3 separate regions of the Homo sapiens genome follow, and regions 2 and 3 are each linked to region 1. Evidence: promoter capture Hi-C in 16 types of primary human blood cells and fetal thymus (Javierre and others, 2016). All regions are on one chromosome and are shown on one strand. The core of a region is centred on a gene start or on the middle of the fragment in contact, and the rest is flanking DNA. Distances in the headings are between cores, read along the strand shown. Region 1 holds the start of USP31 (ubiquitin specific peptidase 31). Region 2 holds the start of DCUN1D3 (defective in cullin neddylation 1 domain containing 3). Region 3 holds the start of ACSM3 (acyl-CoA synthetase medium chain family member 3).

Region 1 (3,593 bases), core at 493-2,992:
TGGTCAAGTCAGTGTCATGAATGAGAGGTGCCAAGAGGGCCTGTGGAAGGGACATCTCCTGGAGGGGGTGATATCTAAGGTGGGACTTTAAGGATGAGGGGAAGTTAGCTAAGTAGAAAGGTTCTAAGTTAGCTAAGGAAAGGTTCAAGGGAGAGGGAACGGCTCCAGCAAAGGCCCTCGAGTCTAGATCAAACTGCCCAGAAGTTGAGGGCCATTGCATTCACATTTTAGTGTGAATAATCAGATGGCTTTCTTCCTGGTGTCCAGATAAGAATTTTGACTAAGAGGAGAGTGGAGCCGATTAGGGACAGTGCAGAGCACCCTGGAGATGTCATCATAGAGCCCTACTTACATTGGGGAGGGAGGTCAAAGGTAAAAACCATTTACTTTGAAACGTGGTGTAAGGTGGCCTTCATGTTTTAAAAAGGAGGAAGGGCTCTCCCTTCTCTGATTTCTCTCTTCTGCCTCAGGACTCAGACTAGCCCTTTTAGCAGAGGGGAGCCTATAGAGAGGAGGTCATATACTAGTTGATTTTGGACTAAAGGCATCCCAAAGATGTACTATTTTTTGCTCCCTGCACTATTTTTTTTTTAATGGAACCAACGTTTAAAAATAGGATTTCTGCCTTCTCTTAAAACATCAGATGATCTGGTAACGCTGAGCTCCTGTTCTCACATGGGAACAACTGGCTGGAGCTGAGTGGCAGCCACCTCTTTAGAAAGATGTTAATTTGAAGTCTGCTATAGTCCCCATCATTCCTTATATTTCCCCCAACACTGAGACCCAAGTCACTTGAAAGTCAATATGATGATTCAAACACCAGGATTCTTCACTCATTTGTGGGTTTGTGACCTGTGATATTTGTGGATTCGTGACCTTTGGTTTAGAGGTCAAGTATAGGGGTTGTAAATAAAACTTGGGTTTGAATCAGATAAGAACTGTACCAATCTCAAAGACGGTGAATTAAAGATTAAAGAAAATATTGCATGCTTGGCATAATGTGTGGAACACAACAGCTATTGTAAACACCCAGTAGGAATGTAAGCTGCAAGAGGGCAGGTAGAAACCGTGCTAATTTAATCCGCTGGGGATATGACATTTGATTCTAATTTAATAGGTTTAATTCTTTGCAATATCCCCAGTAACTGCTGAATGAATGAGTGAGTGAATGAATGAATGGAATGATGAATGATGGGAGAGCCCGGAGGAGTTTTAAAGGCTGGAATGAAAAGGAAAGTAGTTATGATAACAGCGTTTCGCTGGGACTCCAAGGTGCAGCCAGGAAGAAAAGCCCGCTGGGACGTGCCAGGGTCTGTGACTGCGCTCCGCTGGCACCCAGAGGGTAGGTATCTGCAACGTCCCTTGGGAGCCAGACAGGGCTGACTTGCCCAGGACCTGTCAGGGCCATGTCCACCAGCTCTTGCACGGTCTGGTAACTGACAGCATCCTGATTCCTGCACGTTCCCGCCTCTGCCATCTGACCAGCAAAGACAGAGACCCACCCCGGGGATCCACCATCCAACGGGAGCCCAGCCTTTTCCTCCAAGCCGGGACGGCGCCCACACTAGACATGGCCTCCCTCGGGCTTCACGCAGCAGGACCGCGCCCGCAGCCTCCAGGCATCGCGTCCGGCTGGAGAGGCAGCTACCGTCCCACAGTGAACATGGCGGCCGAGGCGGCTTCAGCGCCGGGCGGGCGGCGCCGGGAGGCACGTCACGTGAGCGGCTCAGCTGGGCGGACCGCGCGCGCGCCCGCTGGCCCCGCCGGCCGCCGCTCGCTCGCTGGCTCGGCTGCGCTTTGAGGTGTGTGGGGCGTCGAGCCCCCGGGCCCGGTGAGGCGCGGCGCTGCGGGATGCGGCGGCGGCCGTGGCGGGGCCGCGGGCCGGGCGGGCGGGCGCGGTGATGAGTGTCTGCGGCCGCCGCCATGTCCAAGGTAACGGCGCCTGGGTCCGGGCCGCCGGCGGCGGCGAGCGGGAAGGAGAAGCGCTCCTTCAGCAAGCGGCTGTTTCGGAGCGGCCGCGCTGGCGGCGGCGGCGCGGGGGGCCCCGGGGCGTCCGGGCCGGCCGCGCCTTCCTCGCCCTCCTCGCCCTCCTCTGCACGCTCGGTGGGCAGCTTCATGAGCCGCGTTCTCAAGACGCTGTCCACGCTCTCGCACCTTAGCTCTGAGGGCGCCGCCCCAGACCGCGGCGGCCTCCGCAGCTGCTTCCCGCCCGGGCCGGCCGCCGCGCCCACGCCGCCGCCGTGCCCGCCGCCGCCCGCCTCTCCCGCGCCGCCCGCTTGCGCCGCCGAGCCGGTGCCCGGCGTGGCGGGGCTCCGCAACCACGGCAACACGTGCTTCATGAACGCCACGCTGCAGTGCCTCAGCAACACCGAGCTCTTCGCCGAGTACCTGGCGCTGGGCCAGTACCGGGCGGGGCGGCCCGAGCCCTCGCCTGACCCGGAGCAGCCTGCGGGCCGCGGCGCGCAGGGCCAGGGCGAGGTCACTGAGCAGCTGGCGCACCTGGTGCGGGCCCTCTGGACCCTGGAGTACACCCCGCAGCACAGCCGCGACTTCAAGGTGAGCCCGCGCGCCGCCGCGCCCCCACTGCACCCCGAGCCCCTGGGGCACCTGCCCGCCCAGGTCTTCCTTCCCTCGGTTCCTCTTGGCCCGGCAGGCTTCTGCATTGGTTGCTCCGAGTGGTCTGGGCAGTCGACCAGTGATTTTAAGGAGATTCATTCATTCATTCATTTATTCACTCACTCACTCACTCAAACATGTATTTATTGAGAACTTACTACATACGTGCCCATACTCTGTGATAATAGGCAATGGGAGTGACGTTGCAATGAACAAGACTATCCGCCTTCATGGAACTTGCATTTTTGTGGGGTGGGAGTGTTGAGCATGGGTTCAAATCCTGGTTCTGCCACTTACTAGCAATGTGACGTCGGGTAAGTTAAGCAGCCTCTCTGTTCTTACAGTTTCTTCATCTGGGGGACCTACTTTGTAAGGTGGTTGTGAGCTGCAAACAAGTTAATATATTAAATCGAACACTGTGGAATTACCCATATTTAACCGTTTTTTATTTACAGATTGGCACTTTTATAGGGTTCAACCTGATAAGTAAAATACTTCCATATCATGTGTATTTGCTGCTATTATTTTTGTTATTAAAGACTTGAAGAAGTTAACGAGATAATATCAGATAGTGGTTTGAAGAAAGAAAAACCTGCTGCTGTGATTGATGTGCTGACAGGCTACTTTTTATTTTTATTTTATTTTTAGAGACAGGGTCTTGCTCTGTTGCCCAGGCTGGAGTGCAGTGCTCACATAGCCTCAAACTCCTGGGCTCAAGCAATCCTCCCGCCTCACCTTCCAGAGTATTTAATAGCTGGGACTACAGACACACACCACCATACCTACCTATTTTTTATTTTTAAAACACTTTTGTAGAGACGGGGGTTTTGCTGTGTTGCCCAGACTGGTCTTGAACTCTTGTCCTCAAGCCACTCTCCCCGCTTTGGCCTCCCAAAGTGCTGGGATTACAGGGGTGAGCTATACATCCCTGGGGGTATGTATGGCCCTTGGCCAAGCCCTCCTTTGCTGTTTGCTGG
Region 2 (3,614 bases), core at 452-2,951, 2.2 Mb after region 1:
GCTCACTGCAACCTCCACCTCCCGGGTTCAAGCGATTCTCCTGAGTAGCAGAGATTACAGGCGCGTGCCACTACGCCCAGCTGATTTTTGTATTTTTAGTAGAGATGGGGTTTCACCATGTTGGCCAGGATGATCTCGATCTCCTGACCTCGTGATCCGCCCGCCTAGGCCTCCCAAAGTACTGGGTTTATAGGCGTGAGCCACCGCGCCCGGCCGGCCCTTTCAACACTATCTTCACCTCTCCTTTGTCTTACAGTGCAACAGTCTCCTAACAGGTCTAACTACTTCCACCCTTCTCTATCCAGCAGGCAGAGCGGATTTTTAAAAATGTAAATCAGGTCAGGTCACTTCCCTTCTTAAAACCCTTAAGGTACACATTAGCCAAACCCCTGCCTTGGGCTAAAAGGCGCTGCTACAGTCATGCCACTTCCCCAACTACATCACAGGGCACTCCGGCCCTGGCTCTGTTTGCTTCAGCCACATGGCCTTCTGGCTGTTTCCAACCTAAAAGTCCTTCTCATTGGCTCTTCTCTCCACCCAGAAAACCCATTGTCTCGGATCCCCGCAAAACCGTGGCCTCCTTTGAACGACCTTACCCGATTTCGAGGGGCCCTCCCCCCATCTTCTGTCACCTCATCCGGTCTTTGGGGGGCATTTCTCACTTGCTGATACCTTCTTTATTGATTTACTTAACTCTCTCCTGCACACGAATGGAAGGTAACGGAGCAACACCCTACTCTCAGGTTTGAAGAGCAAGAGAATTACGAAGCTGGCTCTCACGGTCCTAGGGAGTCTCCGTTCCTGTACGGGACCTGGTGTGGGTCAACGTTCCCCAGCCAGACACCTCTCGCCCCCGGACCGGCCCCTACCATCTCCCATTTACATTCGGGGGTCCAAAAGATTCACAGCCTCCGAGGGGGCCCCACGCCGGCACCTGAGCGTCCCCACACCAGGCCTCCCCTCTTGGACGCGCGAGCCACTTCCGTGAGGCAGGTCCCCGAGGCCGGTGGCGATGACACCGAGCCGCCCCCGCGAAGCTGGGGTCACACAGGCCCGTCTCCCGGCAACGCCGCAGCCCAACCTCCAAACCATCCCTGCCCGTGGGGAGCCAACCCCTTCCCCGCCAGTCTCCCGCGCCTGGAGTCGGCGCCTCCATCCCCTACACTCACTCTGCGTCAGTCCTGCCTTCCCCCACCCACAGAAGCGCGCAGCCCGCGGCGGGCTGGGAGGAGGCGGCGCCAGGAGCCCAGCAGAGCCGTGGCCGACCGAGCACAGGCTGGTCCAGTAGGCCAGGCCGGACCAAACCACCGGGCCCACCTCTGTGGGAGCACCAGTTCCAGGTCTGGGGGAGTCTCGACTGACTGACTCTACCCATCTCCCGCCGCATCCAACAATAAGCTGAGCTCCTCCTCCCCCTATTTTTCCTTTACGCTTTCATTATCCTCCCCGCTCCATTCCCGTAAAACAAGAAAAAAAAATGGTCCAGCCCAGCTCCCTCCGGGTTGCTAGGTCTTTGCCCTTACTTGGCGACGGCTTCGTACGTCTTTATGTGCGTCGTGACGCAATCTTCCACTCGTTCCCTCCTTGCCCCTCTCCCATTCTCCCTCCTGGAGCTGGCGGCCGGCGGGGTTACCGGAAGTGATGATGCAGGAGGCGATGGAGGGGGCGGGGCTTCGGGGCGGCCGCCGCCGGTGGGCCGCAGATGAAGAGGAGGCGGTGGCAGTGGTGGAAGAAGAGGCGGCGGCGGCGGGGGTAGGGAGCCTGGAAACGCGAGCGGGGATGGTAGGTGGTTTGGACCCGCCGGGCCGCCGTCGTTTCCAGAAAGGGTTTGACTGGAGGAACCTCTGGAGCAGCTGTGAGTTTTGGGGAGGGGGGGAGTTGAGGAAAAGGCGGGGGGGCATTGAGAGATGAAGGGGCGGGGGTTGGGTACCTTCGAGAAAGGGGGGTGGAAAGGGAGGAGTGGAAGTCAGCGCGTTGTCTGGAGTGGTACCTCTGAAAGAAGAGGCTGTGAGGGGAGCCTGTGGCGTGTCAGCCGCAGGGCTCAGAAAACTTACCTACTGTCCCTGCCTCCCCACCGCCAGCACCCCTCAACCCAGGGCCTGGGGATATGGGGTTGGAGCTGCCCTGGAGGGGGTGCAGACTCTGGTCCTCTGTCCTGGGTGAGCGCTGTGAGGTAGGAGCCCTAGGGGGAGGTGGTGGGTGAATCTCCCAGCTCCCTCCGCCCTCATTTCCCTCCCCACCCCCATCGTTCTCTTTAATCATTAACAGCCCTGGAATTAAGGGGCTCAGACCTGAAGGCCTTTTTGTGCACCTTTGCTATAAACGATAACCATCTGTGTCCGAGGTAATGAGGCTGGAGGCTTTGCCTGTATCCTCTATAGGAAGTGGGACGGGGTGACAAATGTATTGTTTGTTCCTCCACCACACCCCCCGCACTTCTCACCCCTCATCCTCCCCCATGCACACCCCTGGTTTCCACTTTAATTCTCTGTGGCTGAGTGGCAATAGTGGATTTTTTTTTCTTCCCCTTTCCTCCTTTATGGCACTTAGTGCCTTGGTTACCTCTTTTGAATTTGGTGTTCAGCCTCTATCCCAGATCTTAACTGTAAGCTTTGTAATACTTCATACAGGCTGTCACGTTGGGAGTACCTCTTACGCTCCGATTATAATGAGCATTTTCTTTTATGAATACTGGAATTCCAGAGCCTTTGCAAGGAATCCTGAATGGCATCATAGCCCAGGAATCAAGGTCTCTTGCTCGAAATACTTTATGTGTGAGGAATTTACATGTTGTCAGCTCTTCCCAAAATGATTTGCTAGGCTAATTCTGGATTTCTGTGTTTCTCTCCACCCACTTTTCATGATGCACTTCAGAGAACAGAAAACCCCATATTACTTTTTTGTTTCTACAATTGGACAATAGCTCTTTTATGTTTTTCTCCATTTATGTGTGACACACAAATCATCAGTGACACGTTCAGCTTGTGCTGATTTTCATCTTTACGTAGCTGATTCTTTGTGTATGGGGGTCCTAAATGAGACAGTGTGATCTGTTTAGTTTTGGTTTAAGGGCGAATACAAACCAATAACGGATGTGAAAAAATTATTTGAAGCAAAGAATGGAAAGAAGGCCTCTTTGTTGATATGCTGTTGGTTTAAAAAAAATCAAGGAGCACTCTTCTAGCCTCTCAGACAGATATCAGAGTGAAGTGTTATGATTTTCCTTTTGGTGTTGATACATTCTTCGGAAATCTTTTGTAGAATCTGAAACTGTTTTCTGAAGAACTTTAAGAGATAGTGCCTACATTTTCGGAGTCCTTTGATTAGAAAGTGCCCGTAAGTCCTGTCCTTCTGTAACTGAGCTTGATATGCATAGTGCTAGGAAGATCTGATGCTAGGAAGTCCTATTCAGGGCTTTCGGGCCCTAAAAAACAGAATATTTAATGCTTGATTATACCAGTAACAGCGTGTTTAGATGTTTCACAAAAATACAACAGAAGAATGACTACTGTTCTCACTTTAACTGATTTAGAACCTAGTTTGCCATTGACTAAAAAGTTCACAGTTCATTAATTCAACAAACATTTATTGACTCCTAAGTGCTAGCCAGTGTT
Region 3 (3,814 bases), core at 1,069-3,568, 2.4 Mb after region 1:
AGTGAAGAACTGCACTGTCATTTCTTAAACCGGTCCCCTATCAATGGTCACTTGAGTTTTTGTATAATTTTGCAATTTAGATAAAATGTTGAAACTATGTCTTCCAAAAGGAACGTCCTGATTCTTTCATTACTTGGATGTAAAAATGAATAGTATTTTTAAGTGGTTGTGAAGTATTAGAAACAATTTCTGATTCTATTAAATAAAAGGCAGGAATTTGGACAAATATCTTAAGGTCTTGAGCTTCATTCTTGGTAGGTTGGCATGATTCATTTATTTATTCAACAATTATTAATCACTTGCCATGAATTATTTCAGACATAGAGGATACAGGAGGGAATGCAAGAGACAAGGTCCTCCTTGCTCTCATAGAAAGACACATATAGTAAACAAGGGAATAAATAAATGTGATGTTACGCAAGAAAACAAAGAGAGTAATGGGAGAAAAGGGACCTTTTAGGAGGTCTCTCTAGGGACGTAACATTTTTGCTGAGATCTGGCAAGTGGTTGTACTGTTAAGCATTTTGCAGTTATTTATTAGTATTTTCATTTTACAGACAAGGAAGTATACACAAACAGACACACATATTTAAATTGGACAACGCATTTATTCATTACCCGTGTATTTATTGAACACTTGGTATATGCCAGACCTGTACTAAATGCTGAAAATATAGCTGTGAACAAGACACGGCTGGTCTTGCTCCCATGAAGCTTATAGACTATTAAGGAAGACATTAAATAATTATGTAAATATTAATATGATTGGAGATAAATATATCATACTTAGCTTGCTGATTCTGAATAGAATCAGAGTTTAGTATGATTTGTTCCCTAGCTCCCATACAATACTCTACACCACATTCAGAATCCTTCAAACGTATGTTGAAAAGAAAATTGATCAGTCATTTGGAGCTTAAAATGAACCTAACCATTCTGTTCTACCAAAAAGCAAATATCGACATCCTCTTCATCAAAACCATAAGATTACCTTCTCCTCAACAAAGTTCTTTTCCTCCCTTTTCATCGATCTTAGCATTTTACAACTTCTATTTCCCAGGTTTATAAAATTATTTGTAGGTAAAATTGCTGAGATAACTTTCCCAGGGTGACTCCAGATTTTTATACTGAGCCACAGAAACATTGGTAAGGAAAACTCTTCTAAGAAAGACAGTACCACCCCTGGTCAGATAGGCTTCTGAAAGTATTTAAGGTCTCATCTGAAATGCAAGCTCTTTGTCCCTACAGCCAAGGGGGCTTTAGCCTCCCCACAGCTCCCTAAACATCCCTCCCTCTAAGTATCCAAGTAATAACAGTAGTTTAACATATACAGCCTCAACGCAAGGTAAATTCACTGCTGTTGTCTCCAAACCCAACCAGACCCTGCCTGAAGCCCCTCCTATACAGAACTTTTGCAGCTGCCCTTGACCACCTAAAGGAGAAAACTGGCTGCTCTTAGGTTTGCATCTGTGTTTCCCAAAGTTTCCTGGAAGTAATTTACATACTTTCTGGATGATGCAGAAGATGGATTCCCATCTGTCACTGAGCAAGGTGGGGAGCTAAGCAGACAGTACAATGAAAATCTCAGCCACTACCTGGTCTTTTTTTTGAGATGGAGTCTTGTTCTGTCACCCAGGCTGGAGTGCAGTGATGCAATCTCAGCTTACTGCAAACTCCACCTCCCAGGTTCAAGTGACTCTACTGCCTCAGGCTCCCAAGTAGCTGGGGTTACAGGCACCTGCCACCACACCTGGCTAATTTTTTATTTTCAGTAGAGATAGGGTTTCACCATGTTGGCCAAGCTGGTCTCGAACTCCTGGCCTCAAGTGATCTGCATCTGCCCACCATAGCCTCCTAAAGTGGTGGGATTACAGGCTTGAGCCACCGCATCTGGTTCAATTAAAATTAAAAAAAAAATTTATCAACTTAATACATGTACATAGTTTTTCAAAAAATCAAATAGCACCAAAAGGCTCAACATGAAAACTCAGCTGCTACATTTATAGCCTTTTGTGTGTGCATACTCCTCATCACTTAATAGATAGTATCACACAACTGAGAAATTCTGAGAGAAACTTTGGCTGCCCAAGACTTTAATGACAGCATTTTTGATTGTTGGTTTTGTTCATCTGTTTGTTATCTTTGCTCAAAAAACAGATGTGCCAGTTCAGGAAATCTTACACAGGAGGGGAGATGAGGTACTCACTAGTTAACAGATTCCAACACAGATGGAGATTATGGCAGACTTGTTTCTTAGAAGAGCAGCCCTGAACCTTGAGTTCTCACATCTGCTTTTTCCTCGTGGCAGTCTAAAGAAGAGGGAGGAGCAGTCTGACAATCCGGAGGAGCAAGACTGGCCCAAAACACTTTCCTTGATTGGTGGAGACATTCTGGAGGAGGAGCCAAGCTCTGGGCTAAAGTTTACAGGACTCCCAGCGGTTCCTCTTACAGGTAATGATTTACAGAAACAGCAAGCTTTTGAGGGGCGGAGAAAGCAAATTATTAACAAGAAGGAAAGTGTCCAAGGAGTTGCCGAAGTGGTTAGTTCTGTAAAGGGGCAGAGAGAGCACTTCTCAGAAGGAAGAACAGATGGAGGAAGCCATAGAGGAGTTTTGAAATTGAAAGGAAAGAAGTTGAGGGGCGGTTATGGGTTGGCCTAAATCTCATCAAGCCCATTGGTGCGTTTATCTGTCGAAGTGGCAGGACTAAACATAAACGCTATCAGGTTACTCCCCTGCTCAAATCTTTCAGTGCTTCTTTTTCCACTCCAGGTAAAATCCGAGTCCTTACATGAACTGCAAGGAGTTGTATGATCTGGCACAGGGTCCTCTGATCCACAGCCCATTCTCCTTCCTCTGCCTCACTCTGCACAGCCACCGGCCTCCTTGCTTTTTCTCAAACACACTTGCCTGTTTCAGCCTCAGGCTTTCTGAATTCACAGTTTCCACTGACTGGAACTCTTTCCTCAGATATCCCCCTGGCCAAATTCCTCATTTTCTGAGGTGTCTTATTAAATAACTCTTCCCTTACCTCATTTTCTAAAGTAGCACTCTTCATTTTTTCTCTTTTACCATTTTTTAACTTTTTACATCTCTTACTATCACCCTTGAGGGTAAGAACTCTTTTTGTTTGATGGTGTATCTATTGCCTGGAATAGCTACTGGCAAATTTTAGGCATTCAATAAATAGTTGATGGATATGTGAATAAATAAAGGACTCTTTCAATTACATGTGAGAGACCCAACTTTACTTAAAGAGGAATTTGTTGGTCACTTTTGAGTTCTAGGAGTCTTTTGTTGTTGATTCCTTGGGATTTTCTGTGTAATCACATTACCTGTAAATAAGTAAACAGATCTTACTTCTTTCTTTCAGATCTATATGCGTTTTATTTCCTTTTCTTGCCTTATTGCGCAGGCTAGAGTGTCTAGCTCTACGTTGAATAAGAGTGATGAGAGCAGACATCCTTGCCTTGCTTTTGATCTTAGAGGGAAAACATTCAGTCTTTCATGGTTAGGTACAATATTAGTAGTAGGTTTTGTGTAGATGCCCTTTATCAAGTTGAGGAAATTCTCCTCTATTTCTATTTTTTTCTGAGTGTTTTTATCATGAATAGGTGTTGAATTTTGGCAAGTGTTTTTTCTGCATCAGTTACTATAAGCATGTGGTGTTTTTCTTCTTTAGCCTGTTAATAAGATAGATTACACTGATCTTCTAATATTGAACCAGCCTTGCCTCCCTGGAATAAACCTTGCTTGGTCCTGTTGTATATTTCTTTTTCTGTATTGCTGAATTCTATAGTTATGTCTCTTGACAA

The links. The method cuts DNA at HindIII sites, captures the fragments that hold promoters and counts their contacts. A CHiCAGO score of 5 or more calls a contact.
Region 2: a contact is called between the fragment with the promoter of DCUN1D3 here and the fragment with the promoter of USP31 in region 1, in 6 of 17 cell types (non-activated CD4 T cells, activated CD4 T cells, total CD8 T cells and 3 more). The highest score is 13.3, in non-activated CD4 T cells.
Region 3: a contact is called between the fragment with the promoter of ACSM3 here and the fragment with the promoter of USP31 in region 1, in 1 of 17 cell types (activated CD4 T cells). The highest score is 5.0, in activated CD4 T cells.

What each region holds. Positions count from the first base shown.
Region 1 is chr16:23,147,601-23,151,193 of GRCh38, reverse strand. USP31 (ubiquitin specific peptidase 31) reads left to right here and starts at 1,742. Exons shown (of 16, transcript NM_020718.4): 1 at 1,742-2,556. The coding sequence starts at 1,924. RefSeq lists an enhancer at 1,342-1,561 and silencers at 1,742-1,841, 1,992-2,041, 2,142-2,241, 2,372-2,601. The HindIII fragment of the contact is 4,661 bases long and covers 1-3,593 here.
Region 2 is chr16:20,898,445-20,902,058 of GRCh38, reverse strand. DCUN1D3 (defective in cullin neddylation 1 domain containing 3) reads left to right here and starts at 1,701. Exons shown (of 3, transcript NM_173475.4): 1 at 1,701-1,855. It overlaps LYRM1 (LYR motif containing 1), which reads right to left and starts at 1,288. Exons shown (of 4, transcript NM_001128302.3): 1 at 1,170-1,288. RefSeq lists enhancers at 311-1,096, 1,097-1,882, 2,092-2,141. The HindIII fragment of the contact is 5,697 bases long and covers 1-2,612 here.
Region 3 is chr16:20,762,518-20,766,331 of GRCh38, reverse strand. ACSM3 (acyl-CoA synthetase medium chain family member 3) reads right to left here and starts at 2,318. Exons shown (of 14, transcript NM_005622.4): 1 at 2,207-2,318. RefSeq lists an enhancer at 2,052-2,181. The HindIII fragment of the contact is 1,761 bases long and covers 717-2,477 here.